Linked DNA regions of Homo sapiens: region 2 is linked to region 1. The links are contacts of gene promoters, found by promoter capture Hi-C in blood cells and fetal thymus (Javierre and others, 2016). All regions are on one chromosome and are shown on one strand. Each heading gives the region's core, a stretch centred on a gene start or on the middle of the fragment in contact. The rest is flanking DNA. Distances are from core to core; before and after follow the strand shown. Region 1 holds the start of ROPN1L-AS1 (ROPN1L antisense RNA 1). Region 2 has its middle 77 kb from the start of ICE1.

Region 1 (4,527 bases), core at 1,532-4,031:
CACCATGCCCAGCCTGATTAAGCCTCTTAAAGTGAAGTTTAGGCCAGGTGCGGTGGCTTACACTGGTAATCCCAGCACTTTGGGAGGCCCAAGTGGATAGATCACCTGAGGTCAGGAGTTCGAGACTAGCCTGGCCAACATGGTGAAACCCCATCTCTACTAAAAATACAAAAATTAGCCGGGTGTGGTGGCAAGTGCCTGTAATCCCAGTTACTTGGGAGGCTGAGGCAGGAGAATCGCTTGAACCCGGGAGGCAGAGGTTGCCGTGAGCCGAGATCTCGCCATTGCACTCCAGCCTGGGCAACAAGAGTGAAACTCCGTCTCAAAAATAAATAAATAAATAAACAAAGTGAAGCTTAACATAACTATCTCTAAGGTATTACTAAATATAGTTTAATGTTCCAAGAAGATGTTGCTAAATCTTGGAATTTTTTGTACAGCACAAACTCTTATAAATCCTTTTATTTAAGCTTGAATAATGGTTAAAACCAGAGGCTATATTTCTTTAGCAAGAACTTTGAAAGAGTCTTTCAGAAACCATTGATAAAAGCATTTCTCAGAAGGCAAGCACTGGATGGACAAGTAGCTCAGTTGGTGGGTAAAATAACAGCCCCAAAGGTATCCAGGTCCATGTTCCAGGAACCTGGGAATGTTACTTTACATGGTAACAGGGATTTTGTGGACTGATAAGGATCTCGGGTGGGAAAACTGCCCTGGACTATCTGGATGGCCACTGAATGCAATCACCAGTGTCCTTGGAAGAAGGAGGCAGAGGGAGATTTGAAGATGCTGGCCTTGAAAATGGAGGAAGGGGACATGAGCCAAGGCGTCCAAGAAATGCAGCTCTAGAAGCCAGAAAAGGCAAGGAAACGAGCTGGGTTTTCCTGAGAACCACTGGAAAGAGCAAAGCCCTGTCAACACCTTGATTTTAGCCTAGTGAAACTAATTTGGACTTCTGGCCTCCAGAACTGCAAGAATGTATGTCTGTGTTTTTTTTTTTTTTGAGACGGAGTCTCGCTCTGTCGCCCGGGCCGGACTGCGGACTGCAGTGGCGCAATCTCGGCTCACTGCAAGCTCCGCTTCCCGGGTTCACGCCATTCTCCTGCCTCAGCCTCCCGAGTAGCTGGGACTACAGGCGCCCGCCACCGCGCCCGGCTAATTTTTTGTATTTTTAGTAGAGACGGGGTTTCACCTTGTTAGCCAGGATGGTCTCGATCTCCTGACCTCATGATCCACCCGCCTCGGCCTCCCAAAGTGCTGGGATTACAGGCGTGAGCCACCGCGCCCGGCCCAAATGTATGTCTGTGTTTTAAGCTGTCAAGTTTTGTGGTGATTTGTTACAGCAGCCAAACGAAACTAATTCACTTTGGTTATAGAGTTTAAAGCCAGCAAAATTTGGCTGTTTTTTTTCTTTTTAAATTAGTTTTCTTATTAAAAAAAATACAGATGGGGTCTTGCTGTGTTACCCAGGCTGGTCTCAAACTCTTGGGCTCAAGTGATCCTCCCAGCTTGGCCTCCCAAAGTGCTGGGATTACAGGCATGAACCACCAAGCCCAGCCAAAATTTGAAATGTTGATGACTAAAATATTTAAATTAAATTTACACCTGTGCTGACTCTTGTCATCATAAAAGTGAGTTTTTGTTTTACATCTGTTTATTGAAAAGGGGCAAAGAGCTCTCCTGTAAAACCAAGAGGATTTCTTTTAATGCCTCTAAGATCTGTTGACTTGTAACTTTGAGATTATGAATGTCTGTTCCTGGCAAGTGTTGGAATGTTTGTGGCAAAAAATAAACTGTGAAGCTTCATTTGCTGGACAGTTTACCCTGAGCACTCTAGGGATGATGACCTCAGTATGACCACGGTCGTTCCGGTTCTAATAAATTTAACCAGCTCTGGGTATACATAGCTCTGAGAGGACTCTCTGCAGATGAGGAACTTAGCTAAAATATTCCTCTTTGTAAAGTCATTTCACAAAGTGACTGCAACCGTGTAATTTTTTTAACATAATGTAAACACTTTTTTGCCCAATGCAATTACTTTGTTAAGTTTTAGTCTATCTTCATCATAAACACTTTTAAACAATTGAGTTGCCATTACGTTGTAGGTAAGTGAGCATTTTGCAATGATTTCGGGTCTCATAGTCGATAAATCGAAATGGTTCCTAGATAAAACACTCAAGTATAGATGTCACCAATGCTAAGGGGAAAGTTTTGCCTGATACTCTTAAGGACGCTGAGTGCCGCGTAAGGCCCCTGGTCCGGGAGGAGGGCTCTCTGGGCTCGTCTGGCTTGGGCATGTAGACCGGACAGCTCCCCGGGCCAAGGGCGCTTACCCCGCGGACCACCGCAGCACGTCGGCCGGCTGGGTGCGGATGGCAGCCTTGGTGAATTGCTTCAGGATGTCCGGCAGCTCCGGGGGAATGTGGATCTGCTGAGCGCAGAACATGGTGTCGGGAAGCGGCATCGCTCTCCGCAGAAGGGACCAGGCTGGTGAATCGCGGCGCGCTGCGAGGAAGAAGGGCGGCTGTCGGCTACGACGCGGTGGACCCGCTAGCAGCGCGGGGCTTGCGGCCAGGGCCGCCTCCCATCCCGTTCCCGAGGTTGGGGCCGGATTCGCGGGGCTCTTACCCGCTCCTCCGCGGGCTTCGGGAGAAATTCGGACCAACTGCCACTCCGACAACACCCTAGACCCTGCAGTTCCCTAGCGCCAGCCGCCACTACGGACGCGCTCGGTATCCAGGCACCCGGGACGCGAGCAGGCCCCGCCCCTGGAGCCGCGCACGCGCACGCGGCCCTGAGCGAGGCGGGGCTGCTCCCGGGCTGGACAAGGAGGTGCTGGCGTAGTCCGACTAGCAGCAGCCGCTGCTCCCCGGTGGTTCAGAGCCGCGCGAGCTGAGCGTTTCGCCTACAAAAGCATCTTCGGATCGGTTTCCCACCGCCGAATGTGAGCGGCGAACTCACGAAGGACTCCCTCTTCCCCTTGCTCTGGCTGCGTGAGGCTGAGGCTAGGGGACTCGGGCCTGCTAGGAGGGAAGCGGGTTAAGTGAAGGGGCTGATCGCCTGGGCGGCACGGGCCCCGCTGCGGGACCCGCCTGCGCCTGGGGCCGCTCCTCCAAACTTCTCGGGCTTCGAACTTCGCACATGCTGTTCCCTGGCCTAAGCCATCCCGTAGTGAACCTGAGTTCTTAATTTAAAAAGCCGCTTAGACAGTGGGCAGTTTCCAGCTAAAACACTATTGTATTTGTTTTCTTACGATAGGTTGCTTGAGCCAATGTGACTGGCTCTAGGAGGAAATAAATCACATCTGTCAAAAGAGCCTCGAGTCGAAGGATAGGAGAAACCTCGAATTTGGTGGGTGCTGACCAAGGCACCATGCAAGGGGTTAACTTTGCTTTAGGGGGTGACCTGGCTGGCTGCTGCAGTTGCCGTTAACAGCCACCGAATGGATGAGACTCCAGATCCACCTCCTCCTGCGTTCCTCAAAACAGGAAGATGGAGAACTACGGAGAGCTACTTCCCAGAGGGGCCGATGGCAAGCACTCCCTTCAAGGAAACTGGGGAAGTTGCCCGATTTTGATCGTTTCCATCCAAACACCCACCAGACAATATATACATACACATTTCTAAATTAACAGCATTGGCAAAAACTGAAAATACTTGTATTTAAAGTTGATGACAGTATGAAAACAAGAAATCCGTCCGGGCGCGGTGGGTCACGCCTGTAACCCCAGCACTGATCACAAGGTCAGGAGTTCGAGACTAGCCTGGCTAACATGGTGAAACCCCCTTCTCTACAAAAATTGGCTGGGCGTAGTGGCGCGTGCCTGTATTCCCAGCTACTTGGGAGGCTGAGGCAGGAGAATAGCTTGAGCCCGGGAGGTGGAGGTTGCCGTGAGCAGAAATGGCACCACTGCACTCCAGCCTGGGCGACAGAGTAAGACTCTGTCCCCGCCCCCCTCCACCCAAAAAAAGAAAAAAAAAAAAAGGAATCTTCTATGTTGTTGAGAGGGATGTTAATTAGTACCTTTATGGGGCAGTAATGTAACACTAAAATTTTTCGATGATCGTGCAATATTACTTCTGGGAACTTACCCTACAGAAATACTATAAAAAGTAATATGGACAAAAATCTTCACCATATAAATTGGGTAAATGTCTTTTGGAAAACAAATCATGGCCTGGCCACACAATGGTATGAAAAGATGCCCGTGTAAAGTGAAAAAAAGCATCTTGTCAAACAATCTGCATAGTATGACACCTTTATTGTGATAAATGATTCTGTGAAGGTATGTCTGGAAGCACACAACTAAACTATTAACAGCAGTTACCTCTGGGAAATAGGACAGGGATTTCAGGTTTTATTTTGGCCATAGACACATTATTTTGATTCTAAATTCATCATTTATTTACTAACTTAGCATTACTATTGAGTACCAAATATTTGCCAGGGAATTGTTCTGGGAATACAGTAATAATTCAGTTTAAAAAAATAAAATCTTTGGAGCTTACATTCAAGTGGGAAACAAC
Region 2 (4,019 bases), core at 1,245-3,744, 4.9 Mb after region 1:
TTCCCTGTAGTGAAGATTTGCAACTGCCTTTGCAGGTCCTCGATGGTACTTCTAACCTGGGATCACTGAAAACACATTTTGGGGGAATTGAGCCCACTAGCAGTATATATTCCTGTCCCAAATTCATGAGTGCAGGCCTTTGGGTAGAAATTCTTCTGGGAGATATTGCTGTTTGTGTGTGCTTTTTTCTCTGATCCACCCACAGTTAGGTTAACAGTAGGTTAGCATCCCTATCTTCTTCCTCTTTGGGGGCTTTTTTTTTTTTTTGGCTTACCCCCAAGATATCTCCCTATGTGAGACTTGGCTTTTGGGGGTGGGGTTGTCGCTGATATGACATCCCCTAATTTTGGCCCCAGACTTTGTCTCCATTGCCCTTCTATGTGGCCTGTAACCTTCCATCTGCATCCCACCCGAGACTGTCTACATCCCACCCTGTTCAAATCTAGGGCAAATGGTTTCAGTGCTCCTTTCTCCTGGGGAGTTAAGCTTTCTTGTCCTTTCTCACTTTGAAGAGATTCCTTTATTTGCTGCTAGCTCAACTGTGCATTAAAAATATTTTAGTACATGCCTGTAATCCCAGCACTTTGGGAGGCCGAGGTGGGCAGATCACAAGGTCTGGAGTTCGAGACCAGCCTGGCCAATGTGGTGAAACCCCGTCTCTACTGAAAAATACAAAAATTAGCTAGGCATGGTGGCAGGCACCTGTAGTCCCAGCTACTCAGGAGACTGAGGCAGGGGAATCGCTTGAACCCGGGAAGCAGAGATTGCAGTGAGCTGAGATCGCACCACTGCACTCCAGCCTGGGTGACAGAGTGAGACTTCATCTCAAAATATAAAAGTTAAATATATATATATTTTAGTCAGCATCTTAATCATGCTATTAGTCTACAATTCTGCAGAAACCCCCTCTTTATTTTTGACTTCTACTGGGCTCTACTGACAATGAGTGGGCAGGTTTGTGGTTTCCAGGAGTACCCAGGGATTATGGATTTAAAGCACATTTCAGGCTTCATCTAAGAGAGGTGAAGATGTTTGCCCTTCTTAGACAAGGGAGCCAGGCAGTCCTCTGCAGGTCTACCTTGCAGAGCATCAACAGGGGAAGCCTGCTCCTTCCTCAGGACGCTGGTCCATTGCAACTGTAAAAATATTCTGTTTTAAAAATATTCTCTTAAAATGATTTTTATATTAGTCTTTATTTTGGTCACTGTAAATGTTGACCTGAATATGGATATGACTAAATTTAAAAGTAAATGTATCATTCCTGCAAACTGACTTCTACCCAAATTAAACTTCAAACTAGTCCTAATTATTTTCTCAAAATGCTTAGCAATTATTTCTAATTTTAAATGAATCAATAGGTAGAAATATATATATTACTATCTTTTTACATGACCACTAGAAATTGTGTGTGTTAACTGTTCTTTGAGGTTTTTGTGAGAAAACATTTTGGTTGACTAAGTCCATGCAAGTTTCAGAACTGAGAAGGGAAGTGTTTAATCAAATCTGGAATTATATAAAAAGGTTGTGAAATTATCTGGGGTAAAATCTATTGAATAAGGTGGATATAATCTTGAAATCCTTAATGTGTTTTGTTCTTTTTTCTTGCAGAAAAAGAAGAACCTCACATATGAATGCATACAATATGGCAGTGAGAAGGGGCAATGCACCCAGGAAAAAGGCAGGCTCCAGAGAACAGGCAGAGAGACCTAGTTTGCAACTTCTGTCTGCCACTCACCGGCTCTTGCAGCATGGCTCTTATGCCATAGGCTGTGCACGGTGAAATCTGCCTCGGGATGGCTGCTCTGAGCACTGTGCCTGGTGCCCAGGTCCCCAGGCAGCCGAAAACACACTGCTTTTGCTTTCCACGCACAAATGTGCCTCATGTGGTCAATTCCCGGGACCTGCTCTACAGGCCCAAGGTAACCAGCATCTTTCTTCTTCCAAGAGATGATGGAAATGACTATAAACCAAGTCTAATCTTTCTGCCACTTTTTGTCGTTTCTTTCCCCAGCTTAAGATGGTGAAAACACAGGGTCTGGGGGAGAGGAAACACATTTTATCTTAGGCCATTGGGTACTTCATGAGGATATTGGAATCAGCAGGCAGGTTTAGAGAATCTGCTTCGTGCTTTTCACAAGTCCACATTTTCATTGATGTTAAGGTCACTTAGCCTGCCTGTGCCTCAGCTTTAGAAGCAGATACAATGATAGTAATATCTGATTTTCAAGCATGTTCTAAGGAAGACAGAGATTGAGTATTCCTTGGTTTAAAAGAAAAACCAAGTTAGTTCTGAAAAACTCTTTATCAAGCAAAGATTTTTGTAATGCCTAATTAGTTAAAATTAGTGGCATGAAATTACTTCAATAATTAACAATATTGTAATATCTATGTTTAAACTTGAAAATTTCATGTAAATCCCTGCCCATTCCATCCCCATAAAACAAAATGAAAATCAAAGATAAAGGCAAAAGAAAGCGATCAAAATTACTTCATCTCAATAGTGAAAGACTGCTAATTCTATAAACTAACAAACCACCAGGACCTTGCCAGAATAACAAAATGCAGTGCGGTTTTGTTAATGCAAAGAAATGTCTTTTTTCTGTGTGTGTTTTGCTTGTTTGTTGTTTTTTTGAGACAGAGTCTTGCTGTGTTGCCCAGGCTGGAGTGCAGTGGCATAATCTTGGCTCACTGCAACCTCCACCTCCCAGGTTCAAGCAATTCTCCTGCCTCAGCCCCCTGAGTAGCTGAGGTTACAGGCATGCACCACCACGCCTGGCTACTTTTTCATATTTTTAGTAGAGACGGGTTTCACCATGTTGGTCAGGCTGGTCTCAAACTCCTGACCTCAGGTGATCCTGCCTCAGCCTCCCAAAGTGCTGGGATTACAGGCGTGAGCCACCGCACCCAGCCCAAGAAATGTCTTTTGAGCGGAAATGTCTTGTGAGGTCAAATTCTCATTATCTGAATGGACATTTCTTGGGGGCACTGTATTTTGTGTCGAAAAAAAGTTTTAAGCCCTACCAAAAATTTGGGGATGACTCTTATAAAAATATGATTTATGATACACTTGTCTTGTTTCATAATTGCTACACCAAGACAAAAGACAATTACCAGGGGTGCAAGGAGCCCCATGAAGCCATGAGAAACTATAGGTGCTCCCCTTTCCACCTCGATCTGAAAGACATGCAAGTATTCCTAACCCTTTTTAACAACAACAATTCCAGGCAAGTTATATTGCGATTATTTTTTAATAATCACTATCACAATAATACAGACATTCCTGTAGGCTAAATGCCTTTTAATAAAGGACTCTATCATCTTTCCCCAGAGACTTTTTTTTTTTTTTTTTTAACCAAAGGAAACGTAGTGGTCAGAAAACACAGGGCAACAGGCCAGGAAGGGCTTTCTCCTCACAGCTGCACACTTTCACTCGCACAACCAAGTCTTCCTGAGCAGGGGGTGCGCAGGGCTCTCCTTTCTGGAGGTCAGATTCGGGTTGTCCAAACATTTGCCAATGTGACTGTGGTTTTCCATTAAGATATAGTGAGTCTTGGATTATCTGCGAGTGGTCAGGGTGGGAGCAGGTTCCTTGGCAGGTGGGAGAGGTGCCCTGGGGCGGGCAGAGCGCTGGGCATGTGCAGTTTGGCCATCCCACAGGGTCAGTGACTCTGCAACCCTCCTTCAAAACACGGTGGGGCACAGCAGGATGCAAAGACACAGAGACAGATTACTTCATCGCAAACATGCTTTTGCCTCTGAACTCCAACTCCTGAAACATTCCAAGGTGTTATTTTCTTACAAAACTGTTGCAATATTCGAAAAGTATCTAATTTCTCAATGCTGTCTGTAAAGCTCTTTATTGGAAGTTCCCTCTCAAGCGCTTTAGAAGCGTTGCCGCCACTGGCTCATGCAGTCTTTGCTTCTGTGGAAACGGCCCCTTTGAAATATACATGAGGAACATGTTTGAAAAAAGATGGCATTGGGTGGATTTGAAATACGCCTTTTGTTTCTTTTCTTTC

What was found. The method cuts DNA at HindIII sites, captures the fragments that hold promoters and counts their contacts. A CHiCAGO score of 5 or more calls a contact.
Region 2: a fragment that was not itself captured here is called in contact with the fragment with the promoter of ROPN1L-AS1 in region 1 in 1 of 17 cell types (total CD4 T cells); the score reaches 5.6 in total CD4 T cells.

The regions. Positions count from the first base shown.
Region 1 is chr5:10,440,105-10,444,631 of GRCh38, reverse strand. It overlaps ROPN1L-AS1 (ROPN1L antisense RNA 1), which reads left to right and starts at 2,781. Exons shown (of 2, transcript NR_102746.1): 1 at 2,781-2,944; 2 at 3,259-3,897. ROPN1L (rhophilin associated tail protein 1 like) reads right to left here and starts at 2,753. Exons shown (of 5, transcript NM_031916.5): 1 at 2,334-2,753. The coding sequence starts at 2,464. MARCHF6 (membrane associated ring-CH-type finger 6) reads right to left here. Exons shown (of 26, transcript NM_005885.4): 26 at 4,244-4,527. RefSeq lists a silencer at 2,640-2,899. The HindIII fragment of the contact is 3,763 bases long and covers 1,804-4,527 here.
Region 2 is chr5:5,497,431-5,501,449 of GRCh38, reverse strand. No RefSeq gene overlaps it. Among named protein-coding and RNA genes, the nearest start is that of ICE1, 77 kb to the right of the region's middle. RefSeq lists enhancers at 3,110-3,632, 3,633-4,019. The HindIII fragment of the contact is 4,011 bases long and covers 489-4,019 here.